3 separate regions of the Homo sapiens genome follow, and all the other regions are linked to region 2. Evidence: promoter capture Hi-C in 16 types of primary human blood cells and fetal thymus (Javierre and others, 2016). All regions are on one chromosome and are shown on one strand. Each heading gives the region's core, a stretch centred on a gene start or on the middle of the fragment in contact. The rest is flanking DNA. Distances are from core to core; before and after follow the strand shown.

Region 1 (3,545 bases), core at 295-2,794, 3.2 Mb before region 2:
CTGTCCTGCTGTCTCCTATCCCTGTTACTCACCCTAGGCTAGTCATATAAACCAGAACTCCTTTCCCCACAAAGTAAGCCATGAAACGAAGAAAGGTCACTCTCTGCCTTCTCATTTGAAGACTCTCATTCCAGAGAAGTCTGCTCTATACCTGGGTGTGGAAGGAATGCTACACAGAGAGGTCAAGACGAATCTGGACAGGCCTTGCTGGGTTTCCACACTCAGTCTATTACTATTAGTTCATTCTCTTTTTGTACAATCACATTTCTACATGGATGTCCACTCTGTTGAATCTAGGCATACAAATGGACAGCTTTCTCTGGGTCTTTACTTCTGAAGGCTCCTGTGTCACATAAGACTTCCATTAAATTAATTTGTTACACTTTTCTCTTGTTAACCTGTCTTTTGTTGTAGAAGTGTTGGCCATGACCCTTATGATGGGTGAGGAAAGGTATGGAGTGCAGTGGCATGATCATGGCTCACTGCAGCCTCAACCTCCAGGGCTCAAGTGAACCTCCCACTTCAGCCTCCTGAGTAGCTGGGACTACAGGTGTGCCGTAGAGACAGGGTCTCGCTATTTTACCCAGGCTGGTCTCAAACTCCTGGGCTCAAGTGAGCCTCCTACTTTGGCCTCCCAAAGTGCTGGGATTACAGGTATAAGCCACCCTGCCGGCCTTCTGATAGTTTTTAATTTACAGTTTACAGTGTATTTCACTTTAATACATTCCTTATCTAAGATTGCCTTTGAGGTTTAAAATGTTGGAAGTTAATACCTTACATTGTATGTGCCTCTGAAGGTATCTGTAAATGATGTCCCATGTTATTATTTTTGCATTCCCTTAGAGGCAACATTTTATATAACAGTTGTCCAAAGGCCTAAGGCAGAGGATGTAATACTGGGTACTCACGGTATATGACGACTTTCCCAAATGGGAAATGAGCATGGAGGCTCTGTTTTCAGGCAGTCAGTTCTATCCTCATTTTCCTTGAGTAGAAGCATCCCTAAAATTGGCCTGAAAATGTGTCCTTGGGTCAGGGTGTAATGTGGGCTCTTTTCCAGTCTCCTTTCTTCCAATGACCTCTTCCCTACTTTACAAAAGAAAGGCATAATTCTTCCTCATGCTAAATCTTAGTAAGGTGCAATACCCGGTTATGCAAAAACCTCCAGGACACCAAAGAAAGGCACAATTGACTGGTGAATAAGAATGGGGTAACACATCCTTTCACAAGTCAGGTGGTTTTCAGTTGCTTGCTTTCAACAAGTTGAAAGAGAACCTAATCAGAGTTGTCAGCTGACAGATCATTAAAAGTATTTTTTCTTTGTTAGATCTTTATGCGATTTTTGGGCATATAATGCGAAAGGCATTCAAAGAATTGTGTGGCATTACTATAACAAAACTCCATTCATTCTCATCTGCTTTTTTTATGCGAACAAGTTTTCTCAACACTTATATCCATGGAATTGAAAACTTGGAATAGAACTGATGCTGAACTATTTCTCAAAAAAATCCATCCACTGAAGGTCATAATGTATATTAGAAAAAAGTCCACCCAAGTTCATTTCTGCAAGATGCATTGCCAATAAAATTTTGCTTTTGTGTTTAGTACTTACAAACATTTGAAATAGATTTGTTTTGATCGGTTGAAATAAGAGCTTTATGATCACAGAAAATATAAAAAACAACCCAGATACTTCAATTTATGTTCACATTTTTATTACAAGTAAGACGATCAAAATAGTTCAAATATAAAATATATTACTAGGATAAAATTCTAGAGGAGATATGCAACGTCAATATGAGTTCCAGAAAACAATATTTGGAAATTGTATTTTCCAAACTGTATTTTAAAAAAATGGATATTAGTGGGTGTTAAATCCCTATGGTATTTAGAATCCATTGGCTATACAGTATTTAAACAATGCGACAGATGAAATATTTATAAGCCGGAAAAATGTAGCTGTCATTCTAAACTGTATAAGAACATACACAGCTTTACGAAATTGTTTTAGAAGGCTCATGAAGTAAAAAGTTTGAGGACCCTGAACCAAGATGTTTGCTCTGGGTTCAGGATGTCAACATCTCCAGGGGTATTCAAACATAGGGTGTATTAAAACCTGTCGCCCTGTGTTGCGCATAAAAATTTAGTACCTTACACCGTAGTGTTTTAATTTTTGCCCATTTTAAACCGCTCTCTTCGTAGACTGTAGGCTCGTTCTATTCCTGGCTCAGCTCCTGTACAGAGGGGACACTCCTCAAACACCCCCGGAATGAATGAGTTTATCGTGAGAACTCGGAAGGCTGCTAAAATCCCCGGCCAGCGTTGGAGTTTTCAGTCCGCGTGTCCCTGGGCTTCGAAGCCCGGCAGGGCGTGGGAAGGCCCCGAGGAAACGCTGAGCACTTGCAGGCGCCGGGGCGGGGGCGGGGGCGGGCACTGGGCAGCGGGGCGGGCGCCGGGCGGGGGCGGGGGCGCAGAACCCGCAGCCGGGGGAGGTGCTGCCTCGTGCCGCCGCGCAGGCGCGCAGCAGTCTCCGTGTGAGTGCGCGTAGTCGCGCGCCTGTCCCCGCGCGGGCTCCGTAGCGCGTGTGCAGGCTGACGCAGCTCGCGGGCCCTCCTCCTGCTCTGCAGCGGCGTCGGCGGAGTTTTGGGCGTTTGGGAGGGGGGCGAGGGAGAGAGAGTCGAGAGAGGGAGGCGGCGGTGGGGAGGAGGAGGAGGAGGAGGAGCAGGCGCCGCCATGGCCGCCGCTATCACCGACATGGCCGACCTGGAGGAGCTCTCCCGCCTGAGCCCTCTGCCCCCCGGCAGCCCGGGTTCGGCGGCGCGGGGCCGGGCTGAGCCCCCCGAGGAGGAGGAGGAAGAGGAGGAGGAGGAAGAGGAGGCGGAGGCCGAGGCGGTGGCGGCGCTGCTGCTGAACGGCGGCAGCGGTGGGGGCGGCGGAGGCGGCGGCGGAGGAGTGGGGGGCGGCGAGGCAGAGACGATGTCGGAGCCGAGCCCCGAGAGCGCCAGCCAGGCCGGGGAGGACGAAGACGAGGAGGAGGACGACGAGGAGGAGGAAGATGAGAGCAGCAGCAGCGGCGGGGGTGAGGAGGAGAGTAGCGCCGAGAGCCTGGTGGGCAGCAGCGGCGGGAGCAGCAGCGACGAGACCCGCTCGTTGAGCCCCGGCGCCGCCAGCAGCAGCAGCGGGGATGGGGACGGCAAGGAGGGCCTGGAGGAGCCCAAGGGACCGCGGGGCAGCCAGGGCGGCGGCGGGGGCGGCAGCAGTAGCAGCAGCGTAGTCTCCAGCGGCGGCGACGAGGGCTACGGGACTGGGGGAGGCGGAAGCAGCGCGACCTCCGGGGGCCGGCGGGGCAGCTTGGAGATGTCGTCGGATGGGGAACCCCTGAGCCGCATGGACTCGGAGGACAGGTCAGTGCTCTGAAGCGTTTCCCCTTCCCTTCCTCCTCTTGAACTCCCGGGCCCCTCAGAGGGGGACCAAGGCGACGTTTTGCCGCGATCCCCCTGCTCCCCGAATCCTCGGCCCCTCCCCCAGACTCTCAACTCGGAAAT
Region 2 (3,953 bases), core at 15-2,514:
AAATTTGCTGGGCGTGGTGGCACGCGCCGGTAATCCCAGCTACTCGAGAGGCTGAAGCAGGAGAATCCCTTAAACCCGGGAGGCGGAGGTTGCAGTGGGCCAAGATCGCGCCATTGCACTCCAGCCTGGGCGACAGAGTGAGGCTCCGTCTCAAAAACAAAACAAAAAAAAACAGAAACAAAAAACAAACAAAAAAACCACTAAATTTGAAAAATGTTAAATCAACTTCTTTGCTGTATTATAAAGCTCCATTTCCACCCCTCTTTTTAGTTTAGGAAGTTTACCGTTATCGGTGAAGTAATTATTTTGTTAATTACAAAGGTAAGTAGGTTCTTTCTGAACAATCAGGATGTAAACTTAATGCTAGTGAAGTAATTAAACATTTTGAATGTTAATTAAACTCAGTCCAGTTAAGGGTTTTATTTACTACTAACAAACGTATTCACCGTGTGCTAAGTGCTGCAGGGAATCCCAGCCCGTTTTCCTCCATCTAAAAGGAAAATTAGGAGGTCCCAATACTTTACTTGTAGATTTTCCAGTTTCTACCATTCCCTGTAAGGCACTGAGACGCAAGATTTCAAGGCCCACTCGGGGTACCCTGGCATGGACATCGAGTCGTTCTAGCGCTGAGCTTCAAAACTATTCCTTTCCTTCCCTTTCTTCTTCATACCAGACTCTAATCTGTTCTCCCTAGCTTCGAATTATTCACTGTATGGTCGAACATCTTACTCCACAAATAACCTCTGAAGTGTTGCAGTTGTCTTACCCAAATACCTGAACTCAGCTTGTCCCGAGTACTGCGATCCCGCGTACTGCTAATGGGAATATAGTTAACCCAACTAGTATGAGGTCCCCAGTACACAGCAGCTCCAAGATCAAGGCGACCGAGTAACACTGCTTGCCTAGACTCAGGCCAAGTTCGGAGAGTGATCCTGGGGTTATTTTAGAACGTGTCCCTTGCTTCCCAGAAAAATTCAGTCGTTAACTCAAGTCCAGATGCCCAATGACCATTCGGATAAGGTGAGCTAAAGCTTCAATGCCTTGAGGGGCTTGGCAGGGCTCGGGCTCATCCCGGAGAAGCAGCCCCGCTTTCCAGACTAGCAGTTCCCAGGGATGGGTGTGTGCTAATCGCAGGCCAACAAGCCCAGCGCGGTACAGAGGTCCCATTGTGACCGGAGGCGAGAAACCCCGCCTCGGCACCCTGACGCAGCGCAGGACCCGCCCCGCGCGTGACGCCAGCGTCAGGCCAGCCCCGGCATGCTCTGCGGCCGCCCGCGGTCCAGCTCCGACAACAGGAATTTTCTCCGAGAGCGGGCCGGGCTCAGTTCAGCTGCTGTCCAGACCCGGATCGGCAACAGTGCCGCCTCCAGACGTTCTCCTGCCGCTCGCCCGCCCGTCCCAGCGCCCCCAGCCCTCCCGCGAGGGCGCCCCGGGACGGAAGGATCCACCAGTCTGTCGGCGCCCGCCGTTCTCGTGGTCGCCGTCGCCGTCGTCGTGGTGGTAGTCTCCGCCGTCGCCTGGGCCATGGCCAATTACATCCACGTCCCTCCCGGCTCCCCGGAGGTGCCCAAGCTGAACGTCACCGTTCAGGATCAGGAGGAGCATCGCTGCCGGGAGGGGGCCCTGAGCCTCCTGCAACACCTGCGGCCTCACTGGGACCCCCAGGAGGTGACCCTGCAGGTAACGCCCACACCTCAGCTCTGGGTCTCTTATGCCCCTCACGCGGCTCTGGGGGTCCTCACCACAATCGCCTCTGTCCCACGATGACCGAGGAGGACCTAGGGCAACATCTCCTTAAGTCTATTGGGAAGTGACCCTGTATTTCCCCTCACACCTAGGAGGGTCACTCCCCCTTCCCGTCGCAGTTGCTCTTTGAGATTGACCTGAGGCACATTTTCTCTTTCTAGAAGCCGCTGCGTAAGTGACGGACCCATCCACGGGGGGAGATTCCTGCTGATAGTTGCCCCTCCTCCCACTCCCCAGTCCACGGTCACTGCAAAATGAACCTTTCCACTCCCCTTGCACGGGGTCCTCGTCTACCTCCTCCCCTCCCACCAGTAATGCAGTCATTAATCCTCTCTGATCTTTCCTTCCTCTCCCCTCCCCCTGCGATGTGCTTTCATTGATGCCTCACACTGCGTTTTGTCTTCCCAAACCCTAGCGTACTCAATTCCCAAAGTAATGACCACGACCATGCATCGCTAGGTCGGTTCTTAGGCAGCACCACACACATTGTTTTGTTTGAGTCGATATTTCTGAATTATTAAAGTCGTCTTACTGAAATTAATACCTGATACTAGAAGGAGCAGTGGCTTGTGACTGTTTCCTTTTCATGAGACACCGTGTTGATAGAGAAAAAATTGGGAGGAAAAAAATCCCTGAGACTCTAGGAGTTTTCTAATAAGTTGGAAGTTATGATTTCCACTACGTGATTTTTTTTGAATACTAATCTGTTTTTAGCTTTAGTTTCAGGAACTAGATACAAAAATAGATCTCTTTTTCTCCTTTTCCCTTGCAAACAAAAAAAAACAGTAATTTTCAAGATTGGGATATTTGGGATTTGTTCTAAATCTGAGCAATAATGTAAGAACATTCATTTGAATTAGCCAAATCATCTGCCTCGTTTTGATGACTAATTTATTCACCAATATTTGTTGATTTATTTGCTAAATTCTTCGCTAAACTAGCCAGCCACCCACACAAAGATGAATAAAACATGAGCAGTGCCTAGGGCCCAGAACAGTTCCTGACACTTGGGTTTTCATGTGTTAGTTTCAGTTCTTATTACCTAGAAGAGTTTTTAAGCAGATTATTTTAAAGGACCCGTATGTTTTGGAGAAGAAACTTGTTAGACAACAAATTTTGAAATTTAAGGGAGTATTTGTTAGCCGAGAATATAGGAAATAGTGAATCCAAAGTGATTTTTATGTCATTTAAAAAATATATTTCCTTTAAAGGAAATGTGTCTTCCAAATTGAAATTCAGTACTTGTTTAGTTTATCAATTTGTTTGTATTTTATTATATAAGACTCTAAAATTTATTAAGATGATTTGTTTTCTGGCAGTCACTTATACATAAAACATTATTAATTAAAAAGTGCTACTTCCTGGTAAACTCTAGTGTTGGCAGATCAGTTACTTTTAAGCAGTGACTTTAAAGTTTAAAGCTTTGAAGACTGGAATTTCCTTTGATGTATTTGTCTGTAGAATAGTAATAATAGCTACTGTGGGGTTAGTTAAATTATTTTTTTTTTATCTTAGTCGCCCGAACAACCATATTAGGTAGGCACTATCATTTTAGGTGAAACTCAGTGAAGTAAGCCAGGATGTAGGTAAAAAAGGGCAAAATGTAGTGACATTAAACTGTTTTTGCTTGTTGGAAAGTAACTACGTGTGTTTAAATCTTGGTTTCTTGTAGCAACTTTTAACCTAAAGACCTTTGGGTTTATAATCCGAATTTTTAATATTTGTAAGTGCAGGTAAATACTACCATTTATTTTTCCCTAAGATGATTATTAGTTAGAAATACATTCCCTCCATGTGCAAGCAAAGCTTTGGTCTAGAAGCTGTCCTAAAAGCATCTGCTAAGCTGAATTGATGATTATTCACCTTTCAACTCAGTAGATCTGGCTCCTTGCATTCTAGGTCATTGCAAACACTACTTTCATAATGGTTCAGAATTTCTTTAGTAAATCTCAAAGGAAATATTTTCTTTTGAGATTTTACTGTATTTCCCTTGAAATAGATAAGAATCATACCTCACATTTCAGAGGAAGTATGTATTATATAGTCGACAGAGTATAATGTAATTTTAGAGCAGTCGAGTATCAGTAATGTAGCCTGTTTTTTTCTCAGTTTTTTTCTAACATTTTTGTATGTTTAAGATATACTTTAAATGTACTTTAGAAACTTACTGTAGTAATACTTATCTGGTGATTGATTATTCCTGCAAG
Region 3 (3,940 bases), core at 1,133-3,632, 4.3 Mb after region 2:
TTCAAATTCTGGCTCTGCCTCTACGTAACTATGTGACTCAGGACAAGTTTCTTCTCTTTACCTCAGTTTCCGGATCTGCAACAGGGAAGCAACAAACAAGACTGACAGTCAGCTGCTACATGCCAGCACAGTTTGACAGCAGCTCTCAATGGTCAGTCTGTGTTCTATACTGGTTGTTACATACTTTGAATATTGCTTCAATAACTACAGTTCCTACCTAACATGACTGTTATGAGAATTACGGAAATTAATAAATATGAAGCACTTTGAAATATGTCTGGCACATGTAAAGTGCTCAATAATTGTTAGCTGTTATTATTACTGGCCCCAATTAAATATCCATTATATATTAATCCCAAAGGGCAGCGTTATGTACCACATTTTTAAGTAATAAACACACAGTCATTATCTATAGCAAATTCATATAAAAATTCATTTATGCAGTTAAGTACATCCCCAAAATCATGATTTTGTTTGTACTTCACACTCACCAGCTTTTTGAAAGGAAATATATCATACATTATTCTACAATATTCCATGGAAGATTCTACTGAGCAAGTCCACAATGATTTAGATATGGGGGCCAAAGGAATGATTCCTTGGGTTCTATTCTTCACCAGCATATCAAACTCGACATGCTGCCTGCAAGATTCTGCCATATAAGGGCAGTGATCCACAACAAACACTGTTTTATGAGATTCAGAAAAAATCTTCATTTTGTTTTAACCTGTAAGGGGAAAAACATATTAGCCAAATATTTGTACATAACATCTTACATTTTTTCTAATTTTCTCAAGAAGATTGTCTTTCCCTCAAGAAGACTTGGTAGGGAACATGAATAATATGTTCAAAGAAATCTGTCCGACAAAGGACAGTTTAATGAGGTCATGACCAGAAAGCAAGGGTATCAATACACCATATTAGGCTGTCACTCTACCAGGCCCAGACAAAAATACCAGTGCATGCATTTTTGGTTTTGCTTTTAAAATGAACTTAAAATTGTCAGAGGGAAACATTTTGACATTTAATTGTATTTGATTCCCTTACATATACGAAACATAAGTGACAAAGACTCTTGAAATACAACTTTATGATCCTTGCTAATTGACATTAGTCACATATAAACCCCAAGCCAGCATTTTTGCACTTCCCTCCAAGAAAAACGTTTGAAGGGGGACTGGCGGGTAGGGGTGCGGAATTAACAGGAAAGAGGAGTGACAGCAAAAGAAAAGGCCAAAACAAAGATAAACATCTCCTAAGATAACCGCACATCAGGTCTTCGCCTTAGGATAAGGACCCCAACTTCACACTCTCCCCTTAGCTTTTGAAACATCACAGTAATTTACCAGGTAGAGCAGAAAAACTTAGTTGTTACCATCACACTGGTGTGTAGAAGGAAATTTAAAACTTTTAAAACTTTTTCTTATTAAAACAGAGCATACGGTACTCCCCTGCTTCGCTAACAAAATCTTATACTGAATAGACAATCCACATTCGAAAAGCACATGGCAAGCAAAGCCAAAGTGTTAAATCAAAACGAACTGATTTCTTACGATCCAGCTATTTTCACCTCTTGCTTTCAAGACGCATCTCCCCTTCATGCAAAACTCTCTTTGAGAAACCTTCTAGACCCACTTTGCTGGAGGGTGGGGGGTGGAAAATACAAGGTGAGTGGATAGGGAAGACCTCAGGATCGAGGTTCGCTTACTTTCGTGCCTGGTCCTGCAGTGAAAACGAACAGAGGCTATGGACCACAGCCTCTCTGGAAAAGGCTGCTGGCTGGGCGGGGAGAGTCAGCGCACAGTCGGGAGTGTCTGGTGCCACAGACAGGGGACTATGCTTTCCCCGATCATCTCCTAGCACACCGGTCCTTCCCAGGCTTCCTAAGAGCAGGAGCGCGCGTGCGCGTGCACACACACACACGCACTCGGGCTCGCGCGTGCGCACAGCGCTCTCCGATAGCCCGGCCAAGCCTCCCTTCCCCCTCGTAGGGCCAGGCGTCCCAGTCGCCGAACAGGAAGAGGGCGGGGCCAAGGAGGAAAAAAAAAGCCTCCACCCCTCGAGATTTTCCACCCGCTAATTTTCCCAGTCACCCATTGGGAAGCAGGATCTGGGCGACCTGAAAGCCTCCCCAACAGCGAAGTACCAACCACGGCCCCCTAAGCGTACGACCCACCCACCCGGTCTCCCCTTCTCTGTCTCTCCACCCAGGCCGGTTTCCCCTGGAAAAACTCGCGAGACTTTGCGAGAGGCCGAGCGAAAGCCTGGGAAGGGAGGAATAGGGAGGGACATAGAAGGGCCCCGCCCTGCCTTCTGGGGCAAAGCGGAGAGTGGTCGGTTCTGCCCCACAGTAACGCGAGGAAAGAAATCTCGCGAGGCTGGAGTTCTCCGGGAGCGCCGGTCGGAGGCGGTCGGCGGAGGTGTCTACCCCGCCGGTGATGGCGTTGAACGCCACTGGCTTCCCGGCCTTCCGTCCGCTGCCTCCGTCCGATTCTGCGTCTGCTTGCTGAGGAGGCGGATTAGGGGGGCGCGGAGTCTCTTCCCTTGAGTGCATAGGTCCCGGTTGGTAGAGGGTTTGAGTCCGCATCGCCACAGCTGAAGGCTGCGAGGGACTAAGAGCAGAGTAAGTGGACTAAATCCAGGGACGGGAGCAGGGGTGGGCGAGTCGGAGGCGTCCTTTGCCGGGGCAGTCCTTCGCCGGGGCCGGTGCCTTGCGCCTCTTGAACCACCGGCGCCCGGCCCTGTCCGCTTCCCGCCGCGGGCTCCCTGCTCCTGGGAGCCGGACTTCCTCTCCGCGCCCCCCGACTCCGAGCTCCTCTTAATGGAGATGCGGTGCGGAAAGTTCAATGAAAAGCCTTGGCTCTAACCCTGTGGACACACCTTCCGTATCTGCTTTCATCCTGCCTTACCCACCTGCGAGTTCACCACCGGACGGGGGACCCTTTCAGTCACCTGTTTGCAGCGTTTAATGAAGATAACTTGTTTCTTGAAACTGCTCTCCAAGGGGTATTACTCTTTTCTGGTTCTCTTCCTGCCTTTCTTCTCTATCCCATCTCTGATAATGGTTCCAGTATCTGTCCTGCTATCCGAACTAGAAAACCAGGAATCATCATTGGTTCTTCATTTCCACTTAACACTGCACTGTATTATTTTTTTTTTCGCCAGAATTAGTGCGGTTGCCCCCTCTGCCCCCCGCCCTCCACTGGTTTCCCTACTATAATCCTTCCATAGAGTTATTCTGAAATACATATTTATCTCTGTCCTTTCCTTAAACTTTTTAGTAACCGTATTGCTGACAGCATCAAATCCTAATTGTTAAGCACATCATCATTCAGGATCTTTTACAGTCTGCCCCAATCCATTTTACCTTTTAGTCCTGCTTTAATATCCTACCATACAAGACTATACTGGCTATTTCCCCAAACATGCCATGCGCTTTGACAGCTCTGTACTTTTGTACGTGCGGATGTCTAGGATGTTTACTGTTCCTCTATTTTACCACCTGTCAAAACCCAATTCATAAATCATTGTCTTCTCAGACTCCCCCAGGTGACATTGATACCGCTGTGCTCCCAACGCATTTGAAACTTTTCTTCTGCAGTATTTATTAGGTTGTATTATTTGTTTCTGTCTCTCCTGCCAATTTGAACCTGGGTCTGTCTGGAATCATGTCTTACTCATCTCTGAGAAAAAGTCCAGTACTTGGCACATAGCAAGCATTATTTATATATACATATGTATGTTTATTGAAATGGAATAGTTCTAAGGAATTCACCGTAAGAGTTCTTCATCCTTTAAAATCATAGAATTTTGGGCCAGAAGGAACTCTGTACATTAGCTTAAAGGTCCCGACCTATTTTGATTATGAGAAACCCTGTACTTCTAATACACATGCAATTGGACTTTTAGTAATTGTTGGTTGAAATTATGTATAATGACA

What was found. The method cuts DNA at HindIII sites, captures the fragments that hold promoters and counts their contacts. A CHiCAGO score of 5 or more calls a contact.
Region 1: a fragment that was not itself captured here is called in contact with the fragment with the promoter of ETNK1 in region 2 in 2 of 17 cell types (naive CD8 T cells and total CD8 T cells); the score reaches 13.6 in naive CD8 T cells.
Region 3: a contact is called between the fragment with the promoter of FGFR1OP2 here and the fragment with the promoter of ETNK1 in region 2, in 1 of 17 cell types (total B cells). The highest score is 5.1, in total B cells.

What each region holds. Positions count from the first base shown.
Region 1 is chr12:19,436,967-19,440,511 of GRCh38, forward strand. It overlaps AEBP2 (AE binding protein 2), which reads left to right and starts at 2,526. Exons shown (of 8, transcript NM_153207.5): 1 at 2,526-3,404. The coding sequence starts at 2,734. RefSeq lists silencers at 2,394-2,643, 2,704-2,853, 2,864-2,963. The HindIII fragment of the contact is 5,437 bases long and covers 1-3,545 here.
Region 2 is chr12:22,623,907-22,627,859 of GRCh38, forward strand. It overlaps ETNK1 (ethanolamine kinase 1), which reads left to right and starts at 1,265. Exons shown (of 8, transcript NM_018638.5): 1 at 1,265-1,680. The coding sequence starts at 1,525. It overlaps ETNK1-DT (ETNK1 divergent transcript), which reads right to left and starts at 1,140. Exons shown (of 4, transcript NR_135030.1): 1 at 767-1,140. RefSeq lists enhancers at 910-979, 1,510-1,679, 1,699-2,388. The HindIII fragment of the contact is 2,136 bases long and covers 1,030-3,165 here.
Region 3 is chr12:26,936,088-26,940,027 of GRCh38, forward strand. FGFR1OP2 (FGFR1 oncogene partner 2) reads left to right here and starts at 2,383. Exons shown (of 7, transcript NM_015633.3): 1 at 2,383-2,623. INTS13 (integrator complex subunit 13) reads right to left here and starts at 1,894. Exons shown (of 17, transcript NM_018164.3): 1 at 1,709-1,894; 2 at 492-727. The coding sequence starts at 716. RefSeq lists enhancers at 2,199-2,708, 2,437-2,486, 2,709-3,217 and a silencer at 2,747-2,816. The HindIII fragment of the contact is 20,390 bases long and covers 1-3,940 here.